5 separate regions of the Homo sapiens genome follow, and regions 1, 3, 4 and 5 are each linked to region 2. The links are contacts of gene promoters, found by promoter capture Hi-C in blood cells and fetal thymus (Javierre and others, 2016). All regions are on one chromosome and are shown on one strand. The core of a region is centred on a gene start or on the middle of the fragment in contact, and the rest is flanking DNA. Distances in the headings are between cores, read along the strand shown.

Region 1 (2,700 bases), core at 169-2,668, 870 kb before region 2:
TGTCCCACACCAAGATGCTTCAAAACATTATTAAAAATGTTTGGATCCCCATGAAGCCCTATTATAACCAAGTTTATCAGGAGATTTGAGTAGGAATGGGGTTAATGAGCCTCATCATTTATAAAATCAGGAGTACTGATAAAATAAGTAAAATATTGAAAGCTTCTCCACCTGCTTATGGTCATCACTAACCAGCTTCACTTAGCATGCACATGAAATGAAACATTAGTCGACCTGTGAATTTAAGCAAGCTATGTTAGAAAGGAACCTGGAAAATCACTGTACACTTATATAAGTACCACTTACTTTGTGGCATGAATAAGTATACCAAAAAAAAACACCCAGAAATGCCAGATAAAATACAATAAATATCATTTTAAGCTGGGTGTGGTGGTACGAGACTGTAATCCCATCTACTTGAGGAGCTGAGGCAGAAAGGCTGCTTGAGTCCAGGAGTTCAAGGCTGCAGTGAGCTACGATTATGCCTGTGAATAGCCACTGCACTCCAGCCTGGACAGCATAGTGAGACCTTTTCTGTTAATACAAAAAGACAAAAAGCAGCGAGGCACAGTGGCTCATGCCTGTAATCCCAGCACTTTGGGAGGCCAAAATGGGAGGATTGATTGAGCCCAAGAATTCAAGACCAACCTGGGCAACATAGCTCCCTATCTCTAAAAAAAAAGAAGAAAAAACAAGAAAAATCTTTTTAAATGGGTGGATGCCAGGCATGGGGGCTCACACCTGTAATCCCAGCACTTTGGGAGGCTGAGGTGGGAGGATCACTTGAGGCCAGGTGTTTGAGACCAGCCTGGCAACATAGGGAGACCTCTGTCTCTACAAAAAATTTAACAATGAGCCAAGTGTGGTGGCCCACTCCTGTAGTCCCAGCTACTCGGAAGGCTGAGACGGGAGGATCCCCTGAGCCCAGGAGTCTGAGGTTGTAGTGAACTGACTGCACCACTGTACTCCAATGTGGGCAACAGAGTGAGACCCTGTCTCAATAAAATAGAATACAATAAATGCATGGAATATGGAGGAGGGAAGGTTTTTCTTTTAATCTTATACCCAATTATAGTTTGTATGTTTTGTTTTTGCTTCTTTTTTTTTTTTAAGACAGAATCTCACTCTGTTGCCCAGGTTGGAGTGCAGTGGTGTGATCTCAGCTCACTACAACCTCCACCTCCTGGGTTCAAGCGATTCTTGCACCTCAGCCTCCTGAGTAGCTGGGATTACAGCTGCCCACAACCACGCCTGGCTAATTTTTGTATTTTTAGTAGAGACAGGGTTTCACCATGTTGGCCAGGCTGGTCTTGAACTCCTGACCTCAGGTGACCCACCCACCTCAGCCTCCTAAAGTGCTGGGATTACAGGCATGAGCCACCGGGCCTGGCTAGTTTGTATGTTTTGATTTTGTGTATATATTAGTTTTATTTTTGCTAAGGCATGTTTTTAATTTTTGTTATTGTGCTTTGTTTTCATTTTCATTATTTATTTTGAGTAAGTTATACTTAAAACAAAAATCAAGATTCAAAAAGTATAAAAGGGGCCAGGCATGGTGGTTCACACCTGTAATCCCAGCACTTTGGAAGGCCAAGGTGGACAAATCGCCTGAGCTCAGGAGTTCGAGACCAACCTTGGCAACATGGCAAAACCCCGTCTCTACAAGAAATACAAAAATTAGCCAATGTTGTGGCATGTACCTGTGGTCCCAGCTACTCAGGAGGGTGAGGTGGAAGGATCACCTGAGCCCGGGAGGCAGAAGCTGCAGTGAGCCAAGATACTGCCACTGCACTCCAATCTGGGCAACAACAACATCCTGTGTCCAAAAACGTATAACAGGTCAAACCGTAAAACTTGTCTCTCTTACCCTTATTCCCAGCCTCTCGGTTCTTCTTCCCTATCCTTCCAAAGATGTTTTATGTAAATACAATCAAATATACACATGCATACTCTTATCCCCCTTGTTAACACAAATTTTTGTTTTCTTTATTATTTCTTTCAATAGAGGTGGGGTTTTGCTATGTTGGCTAGGTTGGTCTTGAACTCCTGGCCTCAAGCAATCCTCCTGTCTCGGCCTCCCAAAGTGCTAGGTTCATGAGCATGAGCCACCAGACCCGGCCAAATTTTAGCTTTCTTTACACACTATTCTGCATTTTGACTTGTTTCATATACCAATAGATTTTGAAGATTGTTTCATATCAATGCATAAACAGTTTCCTGTGTTTTGTTATAGCTGCATAGTATTCAGATTATTGATGTACCTTTTTTTTTTTTTTAAGTAGAGATAGGGGCTTGCTATATTTCCCAGGCTGGTTTCAAACTCCTGGCTTCCAGGGACCTACCTGCCTTGGCCTTCCAAAGTGTTGGAATAATAGGGTGAGCCACCACACACAGCCCCATAATTTATTTAACCAACCCTCTATTGATGGATATTGAGACTGTGATATAGTTTGGGTGTTGGATCCCTCCAAATCTCACGTTGAAATATGATTCCCAATGTTGGAGGTGGGCCCTGTTGGGAGGTGACTGGATCATGGGGACAGATCCCTTGTGAATGGTTTAGCACCATCCCCTTGGCGATAAACTGGGACCTCCCCACCTAATTTTCTTGTTCCTATTCTCGCCATGTGACATGCTGGATCCCTGTCACCTTCAGCCATGATTGTAAGCTTCCTGAGGCCTCACCAGAAGCACATGACA
Region 2 (2,700 bases), core at 175-2,674:
TCTTGGCAAGTTGTGGTGTGTGGAATTCAAGTAGGAAAGAGGACTGGACTCAGTCTATGCGATGTCAAGCTCAGAATCTGGAGTAGACCTCCAAGATCACCTGGTTTAATTCTCTATTCTCAATCAACCTCTACTTTATTGCACCCATCATTCCTATCTGTGATGTCATCTCAACATCTGCTAGCACCAGCAAAGTATAAATTACAAACGAAACAGTTCCCTCCCTCCCATCTTAATAGATTAGGAAATAAGGGCCCAGAAGGGAGAAGTCCCTTCCTAGGCCCAAAAGGGAGAAGTAACTTCCTAAAGCCACATGATTAATGAGTTCTTCCTTGGGGATTCCAGGATCTTTTAGCACTGTTCTCAAGGACTCAAGAAAGGGTGTAAACAGGTTTATATTTATTAAGTGCCTAAGTTAGAAGCATTGTGGTAGGCACTTTCACATACATCATGTTTACACAGAGATAAAAATAATTGCAACCTTGAGTCCTGACTTTTTATTATGTAGGGTTTCTCTAAGACAAGCACAGGCTTTGGAATCAGAAAGACCAAGGTTCTACCAGTTGGGAAAGGTATTTTTCTTCTCTGAACTTGTATTCCTCCTGCATTTGGAAAGGTATAACACCACGTACTTCACAGGGTTGTTTTGAGGGTTAAAACATTATCAACCACAGGGAATGGTTCACAGAAGATACACAGTTACTGGTAACTATTGTTACCACTCCCGAGGGGACAACTATGGTAAACTGCAAGAATGTGGGAACGGAAGTTGAAACCGCCATTCACTAGCTGTGCAACACTGAGCCTGTCGGTCAGCAGGCAGTGGGAGGGGGGTTATAAAGATGGGCAAGGGACGCCGACTTGTAAACAAACACTGCCATTACAAGGTGAAGAGTGCTGTAACTGAGTTCGGTTCCCTGGACTCAAGGGCGGGAAGTGGTAACCTCAGCTTCCCTATCTGTAGACTGGGAGCATCAAATGAGATGACAACAGAGAGCCTGTATAAAGCTCAAAGCACACAACACTGCTGTTGTGAGCAAGGAGTAATGGAACAGAGGAGGGGCGTCCACCTGCCTCCTGGGACAGGGTCTGGGCGGCAACAGGGCGGGCCCGCTCGCTCCCACAGGGGGCGGTGGTGCTGGGGACCTTCCCACAGGTGCCGACCCCCAGCTGCGCCGCCGGTAACCGACAGGCCAAGCCAGCCGCCTCCGCCCCCGCTCGCCGCACCACGGCGGAAGTGGCAGCCTGAGCGGTTGGCGGGTGTCGGAAGGGGAGGGCGGGGGGAGACCGTGCGCAGCGGCCTATGGCCGTGAAGTGGCGGGACCGCCGGGGGTCTCACCTGAAGCAGGGAGGGTCCTCCAACACCAGCACGCGGCAAGAGAAAGATGGCTGCCTCAGCCGAGACAGAGAAAGACGACGGCGGCGGCGGCGGCGGCGGGAGCAGATCCACGTGATACAGCCGACCCCGCCTCTCCCTCTCCGGGGCAGCCTATCCCGGGAGCGAACATCTGAACTCCAACGCCCCGCCTGCTTTGCGCATCCCTCTTAGTGCTAGTGGCGGCAGGTGCAGGTGGCCGCGCGGCATCCTGGGGCTTGCAGTCTCCCGAGCGTTCTGTTGTGTCCCTGCCTACAATTTTAGGGAACCTAATAAAAGGGTGGTCGGTATGTTTTTATTTGGGTGTGTACTTTTGTTAGGTCGCTTTTTCGCTATGCATTAAGTACGGACTTTAGGACTCAACTAGTACCAGGAAGAAAAAGACCGGACATTTTCACCTGTTTGTTATACAGCGAAGGGGAAAAATTGGGAAGAAATCCTCAAGCTACAAGAAAAATAACCAGAAGCTTTACACTTTAGCCTGCAGTGACTTATATCCTGGTGTCCTAAGTCCACCTAAGTCAGTTTTGCAATAAGAGGTCCCAAGTTTGGTTTTCTTGGAGCTTGCATCAGTTGGTTGCATCATCCCTGAGTAGAAGATTTGCGGTTGCAAGGAAAAATAAGGTACAGAGCTTCTCCAGCGGGAAAGTGCATGTCTGCACGGCACGAGCCCACGCACCGCAGAACAGGCTTGCCAGGTCTCCTCAGAGACCCTCGCAGGAACCTAACAATGAAATCCAGTTGTCCAGTCTTGATTTGTGGAGGGGTAAGGAGAATCCGAGGCCAGTGGGCAATCCGCCCACTGTTGGGAGCGACTGACCTCACGAATCAATAATTTGCTTTTGACTAGGAAGTGCAGCGGTTCTTGGGGGGAGGGGCTGGACTGGGTGGCGGACGCGAGGAGCAACGGTTCTCCCGAACCTCTCCCCCGCCCCTACTATCTTGGCCTACATTTTCCCGCTCCGTCCCGGGACCTGGACACCCAGAATCCACGAAAAGCAACTCGCGCTCGAGAACAGCTCTCGTACCCTTCTACGTGATCTGCACCTTTAAGCTCACTCCATCCCAAACCGGACCCCGGAGGCACCACCCACATCCGTCTAACATCACTTCCTTCAGAGTTTGAAAAAAAAAAATCTGGGAAGTAGAGGTGTTGTGCTGAGCGGCGCTCGGCGAACTGTGTGGACCGTCTGCTGGGACTCCGGCCCTGCGTCCGCTCAGCCCCGTGGCCCCGCGCACCTACTGCCATGGAGACGCGGCCTCGTCTCGGGGCCACCTGTTTGCTGGGCTTCAGTTTCCTGCTCCTCGTCATCTCTTCTGATGGA
Region 3 (2,700 bases), core at 5-2,504, 670 kb before region 2:
AGAACTGCCACCTCTCAGGCCCTGCCCTCAGTTCACTGCAACCTCCACCTCCTGGGTTCAAGTGATTCTCCTACCTCAGCCTCCCGAGTAGCTGGGATTACAGGCATGTGCCACCACACCCAGCTAATTTTTGTATTTTTAGTAGAGACGAGGCTTTGCCATGTTGGCCAGGCTGGTCTCGAACTCCTGACATCTTAAACATCTCAACTATTCAAACACAACCTAATTAACATTTAACAAATATAAAATACAAAGCTTTATAATAATCATTCATTCAACTGTATTTATTATCTACAAAAATATTGCACGAGAAAGTGGCCTCTACTGATAATTCCTAGCTCAAAATAAGCTAATATTCTGCCTTCTCCTCACCTCTCCCATACATACACTGTTACTCTGTGTGTATATGTTTTAACAAGCAAGGAAAAATCAAGTTAATTAGATGCAAAGTTTAAAACATAATCATGCCTAATATGTCTGCTGTGGTCTGAATTCTGTCTCCCTAAATTCATATGTTGGAATCCTAACCCCCAAGGTAATGGTATGAGGAGGTGGGGCCTTTGGGAGGTGATTAGATCACCAGTTAGTGCCCACATGAATGGGATTAGTGCCCTTATAAAAGAGACTCCAGAGAGCTGCCTGGCCCCTGCCACCATGTGTGAAAACAGTGAAAAGGTGACTTAGGAAGAGCCCTCACGAGACACTGAATCCACTGGGGAACTGATTTTGGACTTCCCAGCCTTCCAAACTCTGAGAAATAAATTTCTGTTGCTGACAAGCTACCTAGTTTATGGTATTTTGTTACAGTAGATTGAATGGGCTAAGACAGTATCTTGCTAGCCTCATTTCCTACTACACATCTCCATTCTTGCATCCTTCCATGCTATATAAGGGTAATACTACTTCCTACAATGCATCCTAATTCCTTCCTACTTTCTTTCTTAAAAAAAAAAAAATCCCTGTGAGGGGATCCTTTCTACTTGCTACTCACATTCACAATGAGGCATTCTTCCCCTTCCCAAAATGATCTATATAAATCCTATTCAACTTTCAGGCCCAGCTCAAAGGACACTTTTAGATCCTAAATACCTCAAAGGGGAGTTCATAACTCCTCCCTCTCATACATTCATTCTCAATGGAAGGGCCCACACTTTCAAAAATCTAGCAGTGTAATGTCTTAGGTAGGATAGCTCTTTATTCTGAAAAGTATATCATCATACCTCACTCAATATCATTTTTGCATCAAAATTAAGATTCTCTGCCCAGGCGTGATGGCTCATGCCTGTAATTCTAGCACTTTGGGAGGCCAAGGTGGGAGGATGGCTTGAATCCAGGAGGTCAAGACCAGACTGGGCAACACAGCAAGACTCCATTTCTACAAAAAGTTTTACAAATTAGCGGGGCACGGTAGTCCGTGCCTGTGGTACCAGCTACTTGTGAGGCTGAGGTGGGAAGATCACTTGACCTCAGGAGTTCAAGGTTGCAAAGAGCCATGATTGTGCCACTGCATTCCAGCCTGGGCCACAGAGCAAGATCGTCTCCAAACAACAATTCTCAAACTCACTCTTTCTGTGTAGTCCACTAGTTACCTCAAATTTCAGTTTAAGTTTATATTAGTCAGGTGGGAAATGAGACCATAAAGTGAATCATTCAAGCACCTAGCTGGCCTGGGCACTTGGAATAATAAGTAAGGAACGGTTGCTACCTAGAACTTACATTCCACAGGGAGAAACAGGTTAGCATACAACAACAGTGTGTGAAAGTGAAGGAGACAAACACAGGAAAATGACAGACTAAAAATGCAGGAGTGAGTTAGGGAAAATTCATAGATTAAATAATTTTATAGTATATTACTTTTCTAAAAAACTGCTGGAGGGAAAAAAAGAAACTGACTAACCTCCTAGGGGAACATAATTATCAGGACTTAGTTTTGCCTTATTCCTCCCAGAGACCAAAATTTAGCTTGTTGCATATGATGGAGCAATGTTTTCAATAAATGTACAGCAAACCACTTATAACCCAACTCAATGAAAAAACCAACTGAAGCCTCAACCTATTTTCAGACAGAAAGAAAATTTGCAAATATAAGGTTCTCCCAACTAAAGGCAGACAGGGCAAAACAAATGAACTCTTTAGAAGGTTTAAAGAGACTGTCACAACCTGCCAACCTGATTGTCAGTCCTCAAATGCCCTTGGTCTCTGCCTCCAAATGAAAACAAATCATTTGTTTTTAGTAATAATAGCCAAGCTTGTAAATAAGTATTTTTAAACTTCTCCAACTGCACCTCCACATTAAAAGATGCTCAAAATAAAAAAAATTCAAAACATTTTTTAGCTATTTCTGTCAAAAGACTAGATCTCTCCTGAGGTCACAGTATGCATGCTGGCCCTCACTTCACTGCTCTGTAACACACCACCACTTCGATTTTGCAATGACACTAGGTGAATAGGCTTCCAGGATCTCTTCAATGCCTCCAAAAACGAAAAGGAAGAAGCAAACCTATAAATCCCTATCTGCCCGCCCTACAGCTCCCGGGAAGCAACAGTCCTCAAATTGTTCCTGCTTAGACCCCTGAAGCCCGTAGAAGGAAATGGGGACAGCTGCGACGGCGAACCGAGCGAGGACATCCGATAAGGGAAGAGGAAACGTGGATGGAAGAGGACGAAGGGGAGAAGGAACACGGAGAGAAGGGGGCAGTG
Region 4 (2,700 bases), core at 176-2,675, 650 kb before region 2:
ATAAAAAGGAGGTATTAAGACCTATCCCGAGGCCTGGAGCGGTGGCTCACGCCTGTAATCCCAACGCGTTGGGAGGCCGAGAATGGATAATCTTTCTAACAAATGGTGCTAGAGTAATTATAAACCCACATGCAATAAAGTGAACCTCAACTGTTATCTCATACCTCATACAAAAATTAATCTGAAATGGATCATAGGCTTTCTAAATATAAGATTTAAACCATAAAATTTCTACAAGAAAATATAGGATAAAATCTTAGTGACTTTGGGTTTGGCAAAGACTTCTTGAATACGAAAGAAAAAGCACAAACTATTAACAAGAGGAAAAAAATCAATAAACTAGACACACCATTAAAATGAAAAACTTTTGGTTTTGAAAGACACTGTTATAAAAACAAAAAAGGCAGGCCAAACTGGGAGAAAATATATGCAAAACTTCTGATAACGGACTTGAATATATAAATAACTCTTAGAATGCAATAATAAAAAACAATCCAATAAAAAGGGGGCGAAAGATTTTAACAAACATGTCATCAAAGATACACAGATGGCAGATAAGCACATGAAAAGATGCCAACATTATTGGTCACTCAAAAAAATACAAACTAAACCTATGATAAGATACTGTTATATTCACTATAATGGCTAAAATTTTAAAAGACTGACCACACATCAAATTATGGTGAGGATGTAGGGCAACTAGAACTGTCAAACACTGCTGGTAAGAATGTAATGGTAGAATCACTTTAGAAAACAGTTTGGGTGTTTCTTAAAGTTAGATATATACCTACCATATGATCTAGCCATTCCACTCCTAGGTATGAACCCCAAAAATGGAAATGAATGCCCATACAAAGACACGTACACAAATATTCACAGCAGCTTTATTTGTAAGCCAAAAACTGGAAACCCAAATGGATAAACAAATTGTGATATATCTACATCATGAAATGTCATTCACTAAGAAAAAGAATGAACTATTAATACGTGTGGTAACATGGATGAATCTCAAAATAATTATGCTGAATCGAAGAAACTATACAAAAAGAAACAGTACTTACTGTATCATTCTATTTAGATAATATCCTACAAAATGCAACCCATCTTCAGTGACAGAAAGCAGATTAATGGTTGCTGGGGAGGGAATGAAGTACAAAGTCACATGAGGAAATTTTGAGGTGATGAATATGCTCATTATCTTGATTGTGATAATGGTTTACAGGTGTATACATATGTAGAAACTCATAATTGTTACTTTAAAGTTATGTGCAGTTTCCTGTATGTCAATTAGACCTTCATTTAATGTTTCTTATAGCTTTAAGAAAAACCTGGGTCAAAAGAGCAAGAGTCAGTGATATTCTAAGTTCCATTAATGAAAACCAAATTATTTGGAATGATAATCCCTCTTCTTAATTCAGTCAACAATACTTGGGCACCTAATATTGCTGGGCACAATCAAGACACTGTTATTATAACAAGAATGAGCTAAGACCACATGGACGATGTCAAATTGAAGCAGAGAACTTAAGAAGGCAAGCCAAAAAAAAAAAAAAAATACAGGGGAAAAGCACTCTAGGGCAGAGGCAACAGTTAGTTCAAACGGATCACGAGGTCAGGAGTTCGAGACCAGCCTGGCCGATATGGTGAAACCCCATCTCTACTAAAAATACAAAAATTAGGCGGGCATTGTGGTGGGCGCCTGTAATCCCAGCTATTCAGGAGGCTGAGGCAGGAGAATTGCTTGAAACCGTAAGGCGGAGGTTGCGGTGAGCCAAAATCACGCCACTGCACTCTAGCCTGGATGAAAGAGCAAAACAAAAAAAAGTGACCTCTTACTTGGTTGAGCCTCTCATCACCAACTAACTCTCTTGTGCCCTCTACCGCTCAGGTGATCTCATTTCAATGCAGTTCAACTCAGAAAATAAAGGGAAACATTCCCAGATTTTAGTAATCGACATCACCCTGCTCTATTCTATCATCAAGCCCTATTCTATTCTTGGCCCTGTGACCAGCATACAGGACACAGAGGTCACAGTCTGGTGGGGAACACAGACTTTCATGCCATTATTGGCATGACAAGAAACATTCCTGGAACAGGAATGACTTTGAGCCAGGCGCTCTGCCAAGCACATTGCATACATGAACTTGTAGTCCTTCTGACAGCCATTACAAATGGATCTGCATTTACAGAAGAGGATTCAGACTCACAAACATGATTGGTTTAAGGTTACAATTTAATAAACATGGAACATGGATTCTGAACTAAGATCTGTCCCCACTCCAAAGCCAGTTCTTTCTTTCCTACTACACTATACCAGAATAAACCAAGTGGTGTGGAACACCAAAATGGGAGCATCTAAATCTAATTTGAATGTGTGTAATTGTTGTGTCTGGGAAGACTTTACATAGGAGAGTATTTCCGATTTGTGTCAAAAAGGGTGGTCCAGGCATCAAGAGCAGAGGTAAACAGGGACACAAACTTGGGATCTATTCAGAGAACAGAAGGTTGGTGGGATGTGGGGGAAGAGAGGCAGAAAATAAGGCTAGAATCAGATTGCACAGGGTCTTGAAGGCCATCCTAAAGAAGATGACCTCAAACCAAAGTTCAAGGATTCCCATCCTGGGCCATGTGTACTGAGGAGTCCCCTAAGGTGATCAGGGTATAAGAAACCACAGGTAAATGTGGTATATTGCCTGGAA
Region 5 (2,700 bases), core at 112-2,611, 580 kb before region 2:
CCCGGCTAATTTTTTGTAATTTTAATAGAGACAGGGTTTCACCGTGTTAGCCAGGATGGTCTCGATCTCCTGACCTCGTGATCCGCCCGCCTCGGCCTCCTAAAGTGCTGGGATTACAGGCGTAAGCTACCACGCCCAGCCTAGATTTTAATATCTAAGATAATGGATAAATCTTTATGAACTTATTGATAATATTAATTGAAAAGAGCAGGACACACTACTAATTACATGGCATAACCCCAATTTAACTAAATAAGTATACATATATGCATAACTATACACATGTACACATGCAAGGTTGATGGAGATACACCAACTAACAGGCTGTCTCTGGGTATAGTTCAGGATGTGGATGTCCTGTCTGGGGCCCCTTGGATCTTATCATTGTGGAATATTCTGATACTCTAGCCAAAGTTTCCTTCTTTTTTTTTTTCTTTTCTGAGACAGGATCTCACTCTACCACCCAGGCTGGAGTACAGTGGCACCATCATGGCTCACTGCAACCTCAACCTTCCGGGCTCAAGTGATCCTCCTGCCTCAGCCTGTTGAGTAGCTGGGACTACAGGCATGTGCCACCACACCGAGCTAATTTTAATATTTCTTTTTACAGACTGGGTTTCACCATGTTGCCCAAGGTTGTCTCCAACTCTTAGGCTCAAGCAATCTGCCCGCCTTGGCTATCCTGGCCAAAGTTTCTATTGCAAACAGCTGTTACCTCTTTGTCTGAGGGGTTTCTTGGGCCCAGAACAGGCTCTGTGGACACACTGGCAAGTCAATAGTGCAGGATAATCAATACCTTCCTTACCCCACCAGCCCATGACCGATGACTGACAGAAATTGTTAGCTAAATATCCAGCTTCCTGGCCGTCAGGTGGGATAACCCTGAGGAGTACATTCTACACTGGCTGGCAGAGTTTAAGCTCCAGTTACCTCTGGTGTAATTTGCTTGGTAATACACCCATTGTTGGCTTCTTTCTCTCCCTGTCTCACTTTCTTATCCTCTACCAGTGATTTTTGGGATCACTTTCCACATAAACTACTTGCCATCAAATCCTCATCTCAGAGTCTCCTGGTGAATCCAAGCTTAGACACTGGATTACTCATGACTTCTTTCTCTTTTCATTTCTCTTGTCCTTTTCACATTTTTTACATTGAGTATGTAGGGCTTTTTAGTTCTTTAGTTACTTTAATTAAACATTATTTTCTCATTTGAGATATGCTTACTGTTCGTAGGGCTGTTATCTAGGAGAATTGTGCTTTGCTTGGGACCCGTGTGTGGGACAACTCTGGGTTCCTGGATAGAAAGGGGCCTCTAAGAGAGGCCCTTTGAGGAGTGAGGGGGAGAGTTTTGTTTGTCCCTGTCTACCATTCTTTCTCCAGCTTTCTTGCCCATCCTCTTCCCTGACTCTGGGGTGATACATTCCAGATCGGAGGTCAGTCAGGGGGCAGGCACTGTCTCTGCTGGTCTGTCCTGGTGACAGAGGAACTAAACTCCAAGGACAGAGTTGGGAACAACAGGGCAGGCTCCAAAGAAGGAAAATCTGTGCTTGGCATGAGATGAACTTCAAATGATCCGAGTTGTTCCATGGTGAATGTACTGCCTCAAGCAGGGATGAGTCCCTGTCATGGGAGAAGCTTGTGCAGGACACACGAATGAGTTATATCTTTCAGTGAAGTTAGAGATTCCTACCCTGGGTAGGAAATTGAATTAGAGAGCCTCGAGTCTTCGAGGATTTTACTGTTCTGACTCTGAAAGATAAAAACCCACTGTGACTCCTAAGAAAGAATTGGAGGGACAATCTAACAACCAAGGGCTTTGGAGTCAGGTAGTTCTAAGTTCAAATCCTGGTTCTGCCACATTTAAGCTGAAAAATCACTTTACCACTCTGACCTTCATTTTCTTCCTTTATAAAGGTTTCTATCTCACCAGGTGGTGGGAAGGATGAAATGAGGTGCTGTAGACACGGTCTGACCACAAACTCTGCCTTCCGGCAAGGCTGCTGTCTTCTGGCTCACACCCTCGTAAAAAAACAGAACTAGTGATGGAGGAGGGTGTTTGGCAAGTGGACCAGACGGTGTGACAGCACCAACTGCTTCTCCACAGGGTGTCTTCACTTCCTGAGGCACAATTTTAAAGATAGCAATTCTCCTTGAGCACTGTCTCTCCCAGGAAACAGTGCTTACCTGGAGATTTTGAAGTTTTTAAGGACTGACTTTCATGAAAAGGGCCAAACGGAATTTACAGCAAAACAAGGTCTCCACCCTGCAATATCCGGGCTCTGTTAGGAGCATGCCGGAAGAGTTATTTCAAGGTTCAGAGCACGTTGATGCCCTAGACATCCTGAGGACTTTCAGTTCCTCTCCTGCACTTTGCAATTGTCTGTGGTATTTATGAATCACATTATGTCTGAGTCCAGGAAGAGTCACCCTAGAGCCTTTAGCCACCTTGGGGTCACAGAATGGGAACACACTGACATGGGATGTTACCCCAGAGATCAGCCCATCCAACCCCCGAAGAAAGCATTGTCTGAGCCACTAAAGCATGCCACGTCAGAGTTTCCAGGGCAACGGAAGGGACCACAAGACACAAGAGCTGTGTAGGGAAGGGGTTAGTGGAAGAGGGAAAGGGTCCTGGCTGGGTGCTGAGAGAATTACTCACCTCTGTGTCCCCAGGGGCCAGCACAGTGCCCAGAAGACACT

The links. The method cuts DNA at HindIII sites, captures the fragments that hold promoters and counts their contacts. A CHiCAGO score of 5 or more calls a contact.
Region 1: a contact is called between a fragment that was not itself captured here and the fragment with the promoter of BTF3L4 in region 2, in 1 of 17 cell types (naive CD4 T cells). The highest score is 5.9, in naive CD4 T cells.
Region 3: a fragment that was not itself captured here is called in contact with the fragment with the promoter of BTF3L4 in region 2 in 9 of 17 cell types (non-activated CD4 T cells, fetal thymus, naive CD4 T cells and 6 more); the score reaches 11.7 in non-activated CD4 T cells.
Region 4: a contact is called between a fragment that was not itself captured here and the fragment with the promoter of BTF3L4 in region 2, in 6 of 17 cell types (fetal thymus, non-activated CD4 T cells, total CD8 T cells and 3 more). The highest score is 15.5, in fetal thymus.
Region 5: a contact is called between a fragment that was not itself captured here and the fragment with the promoter of BTF3L4 in region 2, in 1 of 17 cell types (naive CD4 T cells). The highest score is 5.5, in naive CD4 T cells.

The regions. Positions count from the first base shown.
Region 1 is chr1:52,922,738-52,925,437 of GRCh38, reverse strand. It overlaps the pseudogene LOC100652967. Among named protein-coding and RNA genes, the nearest start is that of ECHDC2, 2.3 kb to the right of the region's middle. The HindIII fragment of the contact is 2,507 bases long and covers 165-2,671 here.
Region 2 is chr1:52,055,019-52,057,718 of GRCh38, reverse strand. It overlaps BTF3L4 (basic transcription factor 3 like 4), which reads right to left and starts at 1,424. Exons shown (of 6, transcript NM_152265.5): 1 at 1,340-1,424. TXNDC12 (thioredoxin domain containing 12) reads left to right here and starts at 2,528. Exons shown (of 7, transcript NM_015913.4): 1 at 2,528-2,700. The coding sequence starts at 2,623. RefSeq lists enhancers at 509-1,220, 1,221-1,934 and silencers at 1,000-1,239, 2,100-2,504. The HindIII fragment of the contact is 3,174 bases long and covers 1-1,844 here.
Region 3 is chr1:52,727,118-52,729,817 of GRCh38, reverse strand. All of the region lies in intron 1 of ZYG11B (zyg-11 family member B, cell cycle regulator), which reads right to left. Among named protein-coding and RNA genes, the nearest start is that of ZYG11B, 2.0 kb to the right of the region's middle. The HindIII fragment of the contact is 1,993 bases long and covers 258-2,250 here.
Region 4 is chr1:52,700,247-52,702,946 of GRCh38, reverse strand. No RefSeq gene overlaps it. Among named protein-coding and RNA genes, the nearest start is that of COA7, 3.2 kb to the right of the region's middle. RefSeq lists an enhancer at 1-69. The HindIII fragment of the contact is 3,859 bases long and covers 1-2,700 here.
Region 5 is chr1:52,636,913-52,639,612 of GRCh38, reverse strand. The region is part of intron 1 of SHISAL2A (shisa like 2A); the gene reads right to left. Among named protein-coding and RNA genes, the nearest start is that of SHISAL2A, 5.1 kb to the right of the region's middle. RefSeq lists an enhancer at 2,087-2,246. The HindIII fragment of the contact is 552 bases long and covers 1,086-1,637 here.